2 separate regions of the Homo sapiens genome follow, and region 2 is linked to region 1. The links are contacts of gene promoters, found by promoter capture Hi-C in blood cells and fetal thymus (Javierre and others, 2016). All regions are on one chromosome and are shown on one strand. Each heading gives the region's core, a stretch centred on a gene start or on the middle of the fragment in contact. The rest is flanking DNA. Distances are from core to core; before and after follow the strand shown. Region 1 holds the start of LRRC31 (leucine rich repeat containing 31). Region 2 has its middle 9.4 kb from the start of ACTRT3.

Region 1 (7,256 bases), core at 1,719-4,218:
GAAAGAAAGAAACAAAATCGGCCATGGGTTGATTTTTTTTTTTTCTGTCTCAGAAAGAAAATTGGCCATGGGTTTTTTTTGTTTGTTTGTTTGTTTTTTTTTTTTTGAGGGTCTTGCTCTGTCACTCAGCCTGGAGTCCAGTGGTGCAATCATGGCTTACCACAGCTTCAACCTCTAAAATTCAAGCGATCCTCCCACCTCAGCCTCCAGAGTAGCTAGGACCACAGGCATGCACCACCATGCCCAGCTAATTTTTAAACTATTTTCTAGAGATGGAGTCTTTTTTTTTTTTTTTTTTTTTGAGACAGAGTCTTGCTCTGTCGCCCAGACTGGAGTGCAGTGGCGCAGTGGTGCAATCTTGGCTCACTGAAACCTCCACCTCCCGGATTCAAGCGATTCTCCTGCCTCAGCCTCCCGAGTAGCTGGGATTACAGGCACCTGCTACCACACCCGGCTACTTTTTTATATTTTTAATAGAGACTGGGTTTTACCGTATTAGCCAGGATGGTCTCGATCTCCTGACCTCATGATATGCCTGCCTCGGCCTCCCAAAGTGTTGGGATTACAGGCATGAGCCACCGCACCCGACCAAGACAGAGTCTTGCTATATTGCCCAGGCTGGTCTTAAACTACTGGCCTTAAGCGATCCTCCTGCCTCAGCTTGCCAAAGTGCTGGGATTACAGGCATGAAACACCATGCCCAACTGATAATTACTAAAAGTAGGTGACTATGGGGATTCTTTATTCTATTTTTGCATATGCTTAAAATGTTTTTAAAATGCTTTTAATCTAATAGATAATATATTGATGACATTGCACATAACACATAACTTTAGAGAGAGATTTGACAATATTTATTTTCATAACCCTTGAATTTGCAATCCCTGTTCTGGAAATTTATACTTTAAAAATAGCTGAAATATGGTGAAACAGGGAATGGGAAAGAAAGAAAGCCAAAGATACTCACCGAAGGACAAACAAGGAACTCACTGAGTAATTAAGACATATGAATGTGATGGAATATTATGCAACCATGAAAATTATGCATATGAGCATCATGTAGCAATGTGGGAATTGAGCAATATAATAATATGTTCTAGAAGTAGGATCACAGCTCCACATAAACTCAGGAGGAATCTGTAAGCTATTACAACTGTGGAAAAGATGCCAATCTGGCCCCAGCGACCTCTCTGACTTGTCTTCCACTACCCCTTCCTCTCCATGTCTCCCATCCTGCTTTAGCATCCCTGACTTCCTGACTCTCTCTCAAGCACTCTAGGCTCAGTCGTATCTAAAGCCTTTGCATGTACAGTCTCTTTGCCTGGAAAGCTATTTGCACAAATACCTAAGTGGCTCGCTTTATTCATTCATTCAGCAAAGCTGATTTTATTCAGATTGCTGCTCAAATGCCTCCAAATCGAAGACTTCTTTCCTCCACCCCCATCTAAATAGCACCCCATCCCATCATTCTTTGTCTCCTTAGCCTGCATTATTTTTCTTCATATCACTTATCACCACCTGAAGTTATATCTGCATTTGGTCCTTTTCATGGCTGTATTTCTAACACTTAGAGCAGGGGTTACTACATAGCAAGCACTCAATAAAGATTTATTGACTGCTGACTGACAGAACATAAATGCATGCATATGAAAAGAAAAGACTGAAAAGAATCTTAAAGAAATGATCGTTTGTGTTATAATGAAAGGAAATTCAGTATTTTCCCTACATTTTTCTGTAGTGTTATATTGCTTTTAACAATTTAAAAGTAAAATTATGAATCATTTAAAGCATGTAAGTAACATAATAAATGATTAGCACAGAGACTCATAGTTGAGTCTTTAGTCTCAAAAGTCTTAAAGTCTTTAGTTTAACCCATAAGATCACTTTAGAAGAAAACTCTAAAAAATAAAGAAACATAGAGGCTGGGAAGGGTGTGTGTGTTGTTGGTGGGGGAGGTGTGGATGGTTAATGGGTACAGAAAAAATAGAATATATAAGATCTACTGTTTGATAGCACAACAGGGTGACTATATTTATCCTTTGTTTACAAACAACCCGTTGTGCTCTTTTAGTTATTTTTAAATGTGCAATAATTTATTGCACATTTAAAAATAACTAAAAGAGGCCTGGTGTGATGGCTTACACCTGTAATCCCAGCAGTTTGGGAGGCCAAGGCAGGAAAATCACCTGAGGTCAGGAATTCGAGACCACCCTGGCCAATGCAGTGAAACCCCATCTCTACTAAAAACACAAAAATTAGCTGGGCATGGTGGTGCGCATCTGTAATCCCAGCTACTCGGGAGGCTGAGGCAGGAGAATCGCTTGAACCCGGGAGGCAGAGGTTACTATGAGCTGAGATCACGCCATTGCACTCCAGCCTGGGTGACAAGAGTGAAACTCTGTCTCAAAATAAATAAATAAATAAATAAAACTAAAGGTATAATGGGATTGTTTGTAACACAAAGGATAAATGCTTGAGGGGATGGATACCCCATTCTCCACAATATGATTATTAGGCATTGCATGCCTGTATTGAAACATCTCATATACCCCATAAATATATACACCTACTATGTACCCACAAAAATTAAAAATAAAAATATTTTAAATGTGGAAGTAAAAACAAAACAAATACAACAGCAAAAACACCAGCAGCCAGCAGCTTACCAGTCTCTGAGGTGGCTGTCTTCTGTATCCAGTCGCTGGGTTGGGAATCACTTGTTTTAAGGTCATTGTCCTCTTTTCTGCTTTCAGCATTGGAGCCCCTGAGAAATTTGTTGACAGTTGAAGTCTGGGGCTTAGTTTCTCCTTCTGAGGAAGTTTTCTTCCTTGTTTGACTCATGGTGAAGTTGATGGGGGTAGTTCCCAATAAGACATCTTCCTGTTGCTTTCTGTTTTCTAGGATTTCTAAGAAGAAAAGAAGATTCTGTCAAGCCTGTGTTCAATCAAAATATCCTCCCCTACATGACTGCCCCCCACTCCCTGCCGCACCACCTTTCTTTTTCTGTTTTTTTATTGCTGTTAATGTTTAACATGAAAATAAGAATGATGTAACCCAGGATCCAGAAGCCAATACAAACTCAAAGCAATTTGAGTTTTTAACTTTGCCCTATTTCATTGTGTGAGATACAAGTCATTAAGCATGACTTTGGCAAGCACATCAAGTGTGTCAACACATCTTAAATTACAGCTGTCAATTAGTTACCTGAAGACTTAATATGCCTTTAAAAGGGACTGGCCATTTGCAAAGCTGTCCCCAGAGGAGTTTGCCTTCAGCGACCTCTGCCTTCTGGTGACCCCCACCTCCTTCCTTTGCACATAAGCTCCTTTTTCTCTTTGCATATTCATATTTTCTCTACCCCCAACCCTGCACCACCACCCCACTGAAACATGTTGGCAGTAAAGAATTCATTCATTCCATAAATAGTTTTAAAGAATCTACTGTGGGCCAGTTAATGTTCTAAATGCAAAAGATTCAATGACGAACAAGAGACAGTTCTTGTCTTTGATGGGATCTTAACCTGGTGGGAAGATGGACCTGTATGCCATTGATTGAGTGGGACAAGAGCCAAGAGATGGGAGGTGGTCAGGGAACCCACAGTAAACTAAGCATGCCTTGGAGAACAGACTTGGAACAGTGAGTGACATTGCCTGGGTTTTGAAGGACTGCGAGTTAGCTTTTTAAGAGAGGGAAGAGTATCCCAGGCAGAAGAAAGGGTAAGCTCAAGAGCTCCCAGGCAGGAACGGCTGGAAGAGCCTAGCATTGGAGGTGGGGATGTGGGTCAGGGGGTGTGGAGGTTAGGGGTGAGGTCTGGTATGAATTGAAGCTAAAAAGGATTCGTAAAGGTCAATCTATTATCTCTCCTGAAATTTGCTTATATTTTATGGGAGGGCTAAGGACTTAAACTAAAGGGATACACAGAAGTGTTTTGTTTTGTTTTGACATAGAGATGGATTTTCACCATGTTGGCCAGGCTCGTCTTGAATTTCTGGCCTCAAGTGATCCGCCCACCTCGACCTCCCAAAGTGCTGGGCTTAAAGGTGTGAACCATCATGCCCAGCAGAAGTATTCTTGAAATTACAGTTTTCATAGTCTCCTCTCTAATAAAATAGCTCTTTCTGTAACATTATGTTCCAGAATGGTCCAAGAAACATTTTACACAGGGAATCCTAAAAATGGACCTTGCAGAGCCCACCTCCACTCGTGAGGGCTGGAATGTTCCATGCACTTGGAGCACTGCTTTGGAAGTCACAATTGGACATTCCATTTTTCTTTTAAAATCTTCCTTTCATATTAGAGCAGGGCCCAGCCCTGGTTTACCCAGCAACAGACAGCAGTGGAACTAAACAATTACTCCATGCACAGCAGCACAGCTGACTAGAGTCTCAGGGGGTTAGGTGGAAAAGAAGAAGGAAAGGGGCGCTAACTCATAAATCTAAACATGACCTGCAGCCCTGGCTGCCTCACCCTGATTCCACCATCACCCCAGGCCTTTCTCAATTTGCTACTCTTCTGGCCCCCCACCCAGGACACCTCCATGGTCATTTTCAGCCAATTTCACCATTTGGAGATTTAGACAGGGCTATTCTCTGGGGAGCTAGCTCAGTAAATGGTTTCACTTTTTTATCCTCCCCCCAAATGCACTGACTCCAACTCCCCAAGTCCTAAGAAAACAGTGCTGGAGGGTGCTCCAGGATGTGGTAATTTACCCAGGTGAAACCACACCCAGCTTCTGAGGCCCAGCCAGTTCTCTGTGAAGATCAGTACACTAAGGAACAGGGGAGCCAGGAAGCCAAGAAACACAAGAACCAAGGAACAGAAGAGGATGTGAAGGAGAGGAAAGGAACAGGAGAATAGAAAGCAACCAGGAGGCTAATAAGGCAACAAGAAAGGACCATGCCAGAGGAAGGAAGGCTTTTGAATGAAAAGGGGGAAGCATTTGCACATTTCTTCATGTATAGTAGTTAAGTGCTAGGTTACCATACTCATATTTAAAAATAATAATAATTTTTTCTTGAAAATATGTCTGGGAAATTCCTCTTTATATAAAAACTTTAATAAGCCCTCAGGCTTCCCAAACCAAGTCCATCTTTAAAATCTTAGCTTCAGTAAACCTTCCGCTTCCTCCTTATCCCTGAACTGGACTTTATAAAGGAAATCCCTGGAAAAGGAATTTGGGAAAATTTGCAGATCACAGCACAACCACCACAATACAGCAGCTAAAAACTGGGGGTTTGTCCCTTCTACCAGGGTCAAAAGCATTCACTTAAGAGCCCTTAGGAATAAGAAATGGCTGATATTTCAATTCAACTCATCAATATTAATTGAGCAGATACTTTCCATATTTACTATATTCTTAATAGTTAAGGTTTTGCCATGAAGCCTCAAGAGTAATAATACATATTTGACACGTCATTTCTCTTGCATGTAAGCTCTTTTTATTTATTACTTTTGCAAAAGTAAGGAATACCTTTCCTTTCTTGTCAATCCTTAGGTTTGGGTTTAATATAATTTAAAATTTTTGAGGAATGTCTTTAAAGGTCTTTCTTTCTTTATTCTTTTTTTTTTTTTTTTTTGGAGATGGAGTCTCACTGTTGCCCAGGCTGAAATTCAGTGCCGCAATCTTGGCTCACTGCAACCTCTGCCTCCTGGGTTCAAGTGATTCTCCTGCCTCAACCTCCCAAATAGCTGGGATTACAAGCATCCGCCACCACACGTGGCTAATTTTTGTATGTTTAGTAGAGACGGGGTTTCACCATGTTGACTAGGCTGGTCTCAAACTCCTGACCTCAGGTGGTGCGCCCACCTCGGCCTCCCATAGTGCTGAGATTACAGGCGTGAGCCACCGCACCTAGCCAGTCTTTCATTTTTTGATGTAATGTTTCAGAGTGAATCATATTTTCAATGTTGTTTGTCAAAGGGAGATGCATTTTTCTTTCTCCACAGTCTTATTTCATTAAAAAAAGAAAGGAAATTCTGTTGCCTGTTACAACATGAATGAATCTTGAGGACATTAGGCCAAGTGAAATAAGCCAGTCACAATAAGATAAATACTGTATGACACCTCTTCTATGCAGTATCTAAAGTAGCCAAATTCATGGAAACAGTAAAAATTGTGTTTGCCAGGGGCTAGGGGGAGGGGAAGTAGGGAGTCGTCTGATGGGTATAAAGTTCCAGTTTTGCAAGATGAAAAAGTTCGTCTTTGTACAACTTTGTGAATCTGTTGTACAACAATGTGAATATATTTAACACTACTGAACTGTATACTTAAAAATGGTCAAGATGGTTAATTTTGTGTTCTGTAGTTTTTACCACAATTAAAACATTTTTAAGTGTATTTTTAAAAAGTGATTCAGGCTGGGTGCAGTGTCTCACACCTGTAATTCCAGCACTTTGGGGAGGCCAAGGCAGGCAGATTTCCTGAGCTCAGGAGTTCAAGACCACCCTGGGCAACATGATGAAACCCCATCTCTACTAAAATACAAAAAATTAGCCGGGTGTGGCAGTGTGCACCTGTAGTCCCAGCTATTCGTGAGACTGAGGCACGAGAATCGCTTGAGCCCAGGAGGCAGAGGTTGCAGTGAGCCAAGATTGCACCACTGCACTCCAGCTTGGGCTACAGAGTGAGACTCCATCTCAAAAAAAAATAGAAAGTGATTCAGAGGACTGAACTCCAAATGTAAAGTTTTAAGAATACAGTAATCAATTTCTACTTTTATTTTCCTTCTTATGTATCCACAAATGTGACATGATTTTAGAAAATCCATGCCTAACTACTAAATAGATTTTTAATAAGCATAAAATAAAAATCCTAGGTAATCGGAAAAAAAAAAGCTTCAGTCACTCAGTTCTAAGGCATTGTGGTGGCACGCAGTATCTTGAGTTCTATGTCTGATGAGCTTAGTTCAGCCTTATTCAGAACTCTTGTCTTAAAGAGGCATTATTGTAGATATATTTGTAGTACTTTAGTTCACTGTACTATTTTTAGTTAATTTAAGCAGAAAAGGAATTTATTAAAAGAATGATATGGAAGTTCTACTAAAACGATGGCAGAGGTAAATATGTGTTTACCTCCACTTCTCTTGAAACCCTATTTAATCAACAGATTTTTAAAAAAATCATAAATCTGTAAGGATAAGGAGAACTGGATAGATGTTAACACAACTTTGAAAACTAGAGAGCAAGAGGATGAGTTTAACTGACTTTAAAGTTAAGTGTCTGCATGGATTGGGAGAACAAATTTTTCAAACGTCAGA
Region 2 (7,256 bases), core at 1,885-4,384, 110 kb before region 1:
TATCTAAGTTAAGACTTGAGGAGGAGAGAAGGGGCCAGGAACTACAAGTGCAATTTAAGCAGAGAACCCAGGATGAGAGTTTGGTACAAAGGAGGCTGGTGTGGCTGAAGCACAGTGCAAGAAAAGAAGAGGGTGTATTAGTTTGTTTTCACACTGCTGGTAAAGACATACCCGAGACTGGGAAGAAAAAGGGATTTTATTGGACTTACAGTTCCACCTGGCTGTGGATGACTCAGAATCATGGTGGGAGGCAAAAGTCACTTCTTACATGGCGGCAGCAAGAGAAAATGAGAGAAGAAGCAAAAGTGGAAACCCCTGATAAACCCATCAGATCTCGTGAGACTTATTCACTATCACGAGAATAGCATGGGAAAGACTGGCCCACATGATTCAATTACCTCCCCCTGGGTCTCTCCCAAAACACATAGGAATTCTGGGCGATACAATTCAAGTTGAGATTTGGGTGGGGACACAGAGGGGTAAGCAGGGGGCCAGATTATACAAAGCCTTGATAAGAATTTTGGATTTTATTCCAAGTGCAACATGAAGTCACTAAAGTGTTGTGAAGAGAAAAAACATGGCTCAGTTAGCCTTTTAATAAGATCACTCTAGTTCCGTTGTGAAGAATGAATTGGTAATGGGTGTGAGGCAAGATAAGAAGTAGAAAGACCTGTCAGGTCTTTGTAGAAGATGGTGAACTGGGCTGGGGCAGTGGCTAACACCTGTAATCCCAGCACTTTGGGAGGCCAAGGCAGGTGGATCACCTGAGGTCAGGAGTTCAAGACCAGCCTGGCCAACGTGGTGAAACCCCATCTCTACTAAAAATACAAAAATTGCTGGGCGTTGTGGCACGTGCCTGTAATCCCAGTTCCTTGGGAGGCTGAGGCAGGAGAATCACTTGAACCTGGGAGGTGGAGGTTGCAGTAAGCCAAAATCACACCATTGCACTCCAGCCTGGGCAACAGAACAAGACTCTCTCTCCAAAAAAAAAAAAAAAAAAAAAAAAAGATAGTGAACTAGATTAAGGTAGTAGAAATGAAGCCAAAGTGGGAGGATCACTTGAGGCCAAGAGTTCAAGACCAGCCTGGGCAATATAGCAAGCTCCTGACTCTCAAAAAAATTATTTTAAAAATTAGGCTGGCGGTGCACATCTGTAGTCCCTCTATTTCTCACCTTTTTTTATGATATTGTCACATTAATTTTGTAACTGAAAAAATTAGAAAGCATTATTAATTAGATTACTTAGCATTTGCCTCTGTGCTAACTCCTGGGCTCAAGTGACCCTCGCACCTCAGCCTCAGGGCTGCAGTGAGCTATGTCACACCACTGCACTCCAGCCTGGGAAACAGAGCAAGACCCAATCTCAAAAAAAAAAAAAATAGACCAGAGGACACGGCAGGGTGCGGGGAAAATGAGACATCAGCAGTGGTGCCCAGAAGACTGGTTTTAGCTCCTGGGTGTAGCAGTAGCATTTACGGGAAGGGGAAAGGGAAGAAAAAATAGATTTGGGGGATAAAATGATGAATTTAGTAAATTTAAATAACATGAGACTGCACCATATAATTTGCTTATAGAATCTCTCTCTCCAGGAAGACCTTTAAAGATGAGGAATATATGTTTCACCTTTGAAGTCTCAACACCCTGAACAATACAACATGTTGCAGACTAGGTATTTAGTGTTTGTTAAATGAACATCACAACTTTGCAAGTGGTTCATTCATTCCAGTATAATAAGATTCCAGTTATTGTGAAAAGCCATTTAAACTGTTTTCCTTACCAAGGAAAAGTTGATAGATGAGTAATTATTCTTTAACTTAAAAAGAGAATGAAAAAGTATGTGATTTTTTTAAAATTATTTTTTGTTTGTTTAGTTTTCTGTAAAGTAAAATAGCAGTTAAAAGCTAAAATGCGTGTATTTACATTCTTAGGCCTGCTACTGACCTTCTTCAAGTGATTTTACCTCCCAACGTTTCAGTTTCTCCATTTGCAGAAGGGAGATAATGGTGGTTGCCTTATCTCACAAGGATGTCATGAAAATAAGTCAGATAAATTGCTTTGCCCTCCTTGGAGAGGGGCTCTAGAAAGTAAGCATTATTAGATATGATGATGAATACCCACAACTTCAAAGATATTTTTAAATTGCCCCCCCTCCGCCCCCAAGTCTTTGAACATGTTAAGCCTATGAATAGCACTGGGGTAGGTGTTTATATATTTCTGGCAAGCTTTCACCTCTTGTTAAAGCAGTAAATGGTCTTTGAACAAACGTATTTCTCATTCTTTGATAACTATGCTTCCTTGTTTGTACACTTGAAAGATGATTATAATCTGGCATATGAGGTCAAGTTGAACTCCTTGGTGCCATTACAGTTCAAATGTAGCTTTAATTGAGTTTTTCTTCCAAGGTTGAAAATAAGTCACCCAGTTCACTTTAGCAAACTACTCGCATTTTTTAAAAAGATTGTGGGGAATGTAACTGTTTTTGCAACTGATATGTATAATGTTTTTCATTTTAGTTATAATATCCTCATTGATCATACAAAAAAGTCAGTATTTGTATTTCTTCATTATTGCATTTTTCTGTTTTCCTTAAATTGTTTTTAATAACTATAATTATGCCTTTTAACACTTATATAGACAGCCATAGTACACACATAAATATCACCAAAGTGAAAACCTAGAGCCCCAAGACAAAAAAAAAAAAAAAAATGATAGTCAAACATCATCTAGAGAAAGATTCTAGCTGCAGGTGTGCATCAAGTTCATAATTGGTGTTATTTTAAAAATTCACAAACCATTAGCACTTCCACCCTTCTCCATATATCTCTTAACTATATACCCAAGTCAAAACCACTTCCTGCCAGAGTAACTACAACATACCCATCAGAGCGCTGTAAAATCATTACTTGCAAAGTAAAGAGTAAGACAGACTTCTCCTCTCATTAATAATACCAGTTGCTGTCATATATATTACTCATATATTCTCCCCACAACCACCCTTCAAGGGAAGTCTTAGTACATCCGGTTGACACATGTGGAATGTAAAGTTGGGTGACTTATGCTAGATTCCCTCAGCTAGGTTAGAACAGGGTAAAAGTACAGGACCACAATAATATCCTTATTTCAATGTCTTCCTGTTTCCTTTTTATATCAAGGAAGAAATGAGAATTTGAGGCAACACAAATGAAGACCATATATACTTTGATACCTACCTAGGAGGGGAGATACAAACCAGAGTAAAGGAAAAATATGGGAAAAGTTGCCTCATTTCCACCTAGTGATGGTGGAACCCTTGGAACCCTCTTCACATCCCATAACGACTGACAGAATGGACACTGAAAAACAGGCCCACCCCTCAGGCAGAACCACTGGAAGAAATACCCTAACCCCTATACGTGAAGGATTAGCACTACTATTTTCAGAATATTATTAAAATTTAATTTTGAAACTTCTCTTTAGTGATATTCCCAGAAACCTATAACAGATACCACCAGTGTAAACTCCTCTCAAATACATTTATTTTGGGTAGGCCTCAAACTGGTAGGATGGTCCAAACCCTCACCCTTCTAGAGAAAGCACTCAGGAATGCTTAAATTTGCCTAGGCCAAAGGTCGCAAATTAATAGCCTATAATAGACCAGATTTTATCTCAAAACGTTTTTTTATTGGTGCATTGCAATGACTTCAGCTATCAACAACCTAAGCTAGGAGGTCCCCAGGCCATCCTTACATCTGACAAGCTGCCTACAAATTTAGGGGTTCCCACTACCCCTTCAAGTTTCATAATTCAGTAGAATGACTTAGAGAACTCAGGAAAGTGTTATTTCGGTTTTATTACAGTTTTATCATAGCAAAAGGATGTTTATTATAGTTATTATTATGGTTTTATTATAGCAAAAGGATTCAAATCAAAACCAGCCAAAGGGAGAGACACATAGAGTGAGGTCTGGGAGGGTCCCAGAAAGAAGGTTCCATTGTCCCTCTCCTCATGTCCTCAGGGACACATTTTCCTCCTAGCACACTGAGTACTGCCAACCACGGACGTTCATCCAAGCTTCAGTGTGTCCAGAGTTTTTATTGGGGCTTCATTACAGGCATGATTGGATGAATCACTAGTCATAAGGCTCAGACATGTGGCTCCAAGTCTCTCAAGAGGTCGGGCTAGTATCATGGGGCCCAAAGCCCCAACACTCTAATCACATGGCTGACCAACCCCCAGTCATGAGTCATCTCGTTAGTGTAAACTATTGGGTCTAGTCCAAGAGGCCTACCAAGAAAAGACACTCCCACCATTCTTGGTGAATTCCAAGGGTTTAGAGGCTACTTCCCAGGGTTCAGGAACAAAAGCCATCCAAATTCTTTACCATGCACTTATATAATATTTAAATTTTATTTCAATTTAGCTACCAACATTCTATAATCAGTGGTGTTGACATAAAAATCTGAATTTTTGTCTTCTCTTGCAATACTGACAATTTTAGGCTCAATTTCTGTAAGATTGCTGCCTCCTTAAAAAGGGAAGCTCATTCTCCCTACCATCTCTATAGTCTCCATTTTCTTATTCCCAGTGTGATTCACTTCTTTGTTTCCTTTCTGTCCACTGCAGACATTTAAATTTGCATATCCTGGGCTAATTCTTGGGTATTTTCGCTGTTTTTACTTCCATCACATATTATTACCTTAAAAGAATGAACATGAAGGAATGACAGTTACCTTTTGTCACTTCATTCTCATCTTATTTAAAACCACTCCTCCCTTACACTTTGTATGACGGTGGGTGCATGTGTACACACGCTTGTGCCTGTGCCATCTATTTGTCTCTTAAGTCTCGAGCCAGGCTAACATGGAATTTTTGACTGCAGAACCAGGACAAGCTGAATTAAAACTCAATGTCATCCTCAGAGTCAAAACCCATAACCAACTCCAGACCTTACAAAGGAAGCCCCTCATTCTGAAGGACAAAAGAAAAAGCATGTTTCTCAGTATTTTTAAAGCTAATGCTTCCTTCATACGCATAAAATTCTCACATCCTTCATGTGAAATACAACCTAAGTAACAAAATAAAGAGAACAAGTATCGTCATTTGCAAACTTCATATACCCTTTCTCTCACTATACCCCTTTGAGAATCACTGGTTTAAATAATATAAAAGGCATGAAACAAGCCCTAAGTACCTCAGGAACCATGTGGACATCTGTAGTCTCTCTCAGATACAGCTGTCACATAGACCTTGAAGTACAGTCAACCCTCAATATTCATAGATTCTGTATTTGTGGATTCACCTAGTCACCGAAATTGTTTATAATCTCAAAAGCAATACCTGCAGTGCTTTCATAGTCATTCATGGGCATGTGCAGAGCCCTGAAAAGTTTGATTTCCCCAACACATAGGTTCTCTTTTGCCTTTGTAGTCCAAAAAGGACACTATAAACAAGTGTCCTATTTCTGGTCTATTTAATGGCAAGTTTTTCACATTTGTATGCTTTTAGTTGGTGACTGTGCTGTTTAAAATGACCCCCAATCATAGTGCTTAAGTGCTGTCTAGCGTTCCTAAGCACAAGAAAGCTGTGATGTGTCTTACAGAAAAAAAATACTTGTGTTAGCCTTCATTCAGGCTTAAGTGATAGTGTTGTTGAATATGAGTTCAGTGCTAATGAATCAACAACATACTTTAGGATGTCTTTAACAGAAACACACACAAGATTATGTATCGATTCTTTGACAAAAATGTTGTGACCGAATGTTCCCAGGAACCTAATCCCGTAATTCCTCTGGGAGCAATGGTTCAGTATTCACTAATCCAGTGTTCACAGAGGCTTCACAGAATGTAACTACTGCAAATAACTAGAATCAACTGTACTTGTAAAAAAGTGAAACACACACAGCACAAAATCACATCGAAGAGTATTAGGGCGGGAGTGGATGTGGGGTGGAAACCAAGGTTACAACCATTAAGGAGGTTATTTTATTTTAAACCAGAAAGTGACGATGGAGTTAATGCTAACCATCTGCCCCAGGTTAACCAACAAAGACTTAGGGTGCAATACAGTGAACAGAACACTGGACTAGAACTTGGGAAGCCTAGCTTCTGGTCACAACTCTGCAAAAAAATTAACTTAGGCAAGTAAATAACTTAGGCAAGTAACTAAAACCCCTCTCCGCAGCAGTTTCTTCATCTGCTAGAGTCACTCAAATCGGTGGCAGTAAGAAGTCACTTTTGCAATAATTATTATGTACAGAAAGTTTTCACATAAATTATCTCACTGGATGACCTGTATGGTCATCCAGGATGACTGGCCGTCTTTACTCTAGAATTATATAACTTAATCATTTTACCAAAAAGAAACAATATATTTAATGTTTATAATACTAAGAATTGTCCTTTGGACTGTTTGTAATAGACATGTCAGAGGGACGACTTCAAATATGAGCTAGAAAACAACTATGGACTTATTTTTAAATTGAATGTATTAAATCACTGTTTTCTTTTTAAAAATGAAAGAAAAACATTCCCAGTCTGTGGCCATTCTTGCTTCACGGCCCTGCACCACCACAAATGTTGTAAATGTGGAGAAGCAAAAGTACCACTAGATGGAGTAAGAACAAAAGACATGCACTTGTCTGTAGTTCAAGGAGTCCCCGCCCTTGCAAAAGGGATCTTAGTCCCCGCACGGTGGCTCACGCCTGTAATCCCAGCACTTTGGGAGGCAGAAGCGGGCGGATCACCTGAGGTCAGGAGTTCGAGGCCAGCCTGCCCAACTTTACTGAAAATACAAAAAAATCAGCCGGGTATGGTGGTGTGTGCCTGTAAACCCAGCTACTTGGGAGGCTGAGAGAAAATCGCTAGAAACCGAGGAGGCAGAGGTTGCAGTGAGCCAAGATGGGGACACTGCACTCCAGCTCTGGGTGACAGAGTGGGACTCCGTCTCAAAAGAAAGAGAAGAAAAAGCGATCTTAGATCACCTTGAGTAAACTGAGGCTTACTGAAGCTGAGCTACTTCCTCAAGACTCTAGACAAGTTCTTGGCAAAATCATTCCTTACTTTTCCACAAAACCATGCTGATAGGAAAAATATTTTTCCTTATTTAGAGAACATTACCAGCAACAGTGGACTCTAGAGGTTTTTTTACATTTCTTAATTCTAATAGTGCTAAGAAATGTATCTGCTAGACAATTCCAGGGGACCTACTTAGGTAATAGGTTAAAAAGCTACAAATATACATGTTCATAAATTTACTGACATGGTCTTGACTTCTGACTT

What was found. Contacts are between HindIII fragments. The CHiCAGO score rates a contact against its expected background, and 5 or more counts as called.
Region 2: a fragment that was not itself captured here is called in contact with the fragment with the promoter of LRRC31 in region 1 in 2 of 17 cell types (total B cells and naive B cells); the score reaches 6.7 in total B cells.

The regions. Positions count from the first base shown.
Region 1 is chr3:169,866,967-169,874,222 of GRCh38, forward strand. It overlaps LRRC31 (leucine rich repeat containing 31), which reads right to left and starts at 2,969. Exons shown (of 9, transcript NM_024727.4): 1 at 2,667-2,969. The coding sequence starts at 2,841. The HindIII fragment of the contact is 9,706 bases long and covers 1-6,832 here.
Region 2 is chr3:169,756,515-169,763,770 of GRCh38, forward strand. No RefSeq gene overlaps it. Among named protein-coding and RNA genes, the nearest start is that of ACTRT3, 9.4 kb to the right of the region's middle. The HindIII fragment of the contact is 1,828 bases long and covers 2,221-4,048 here.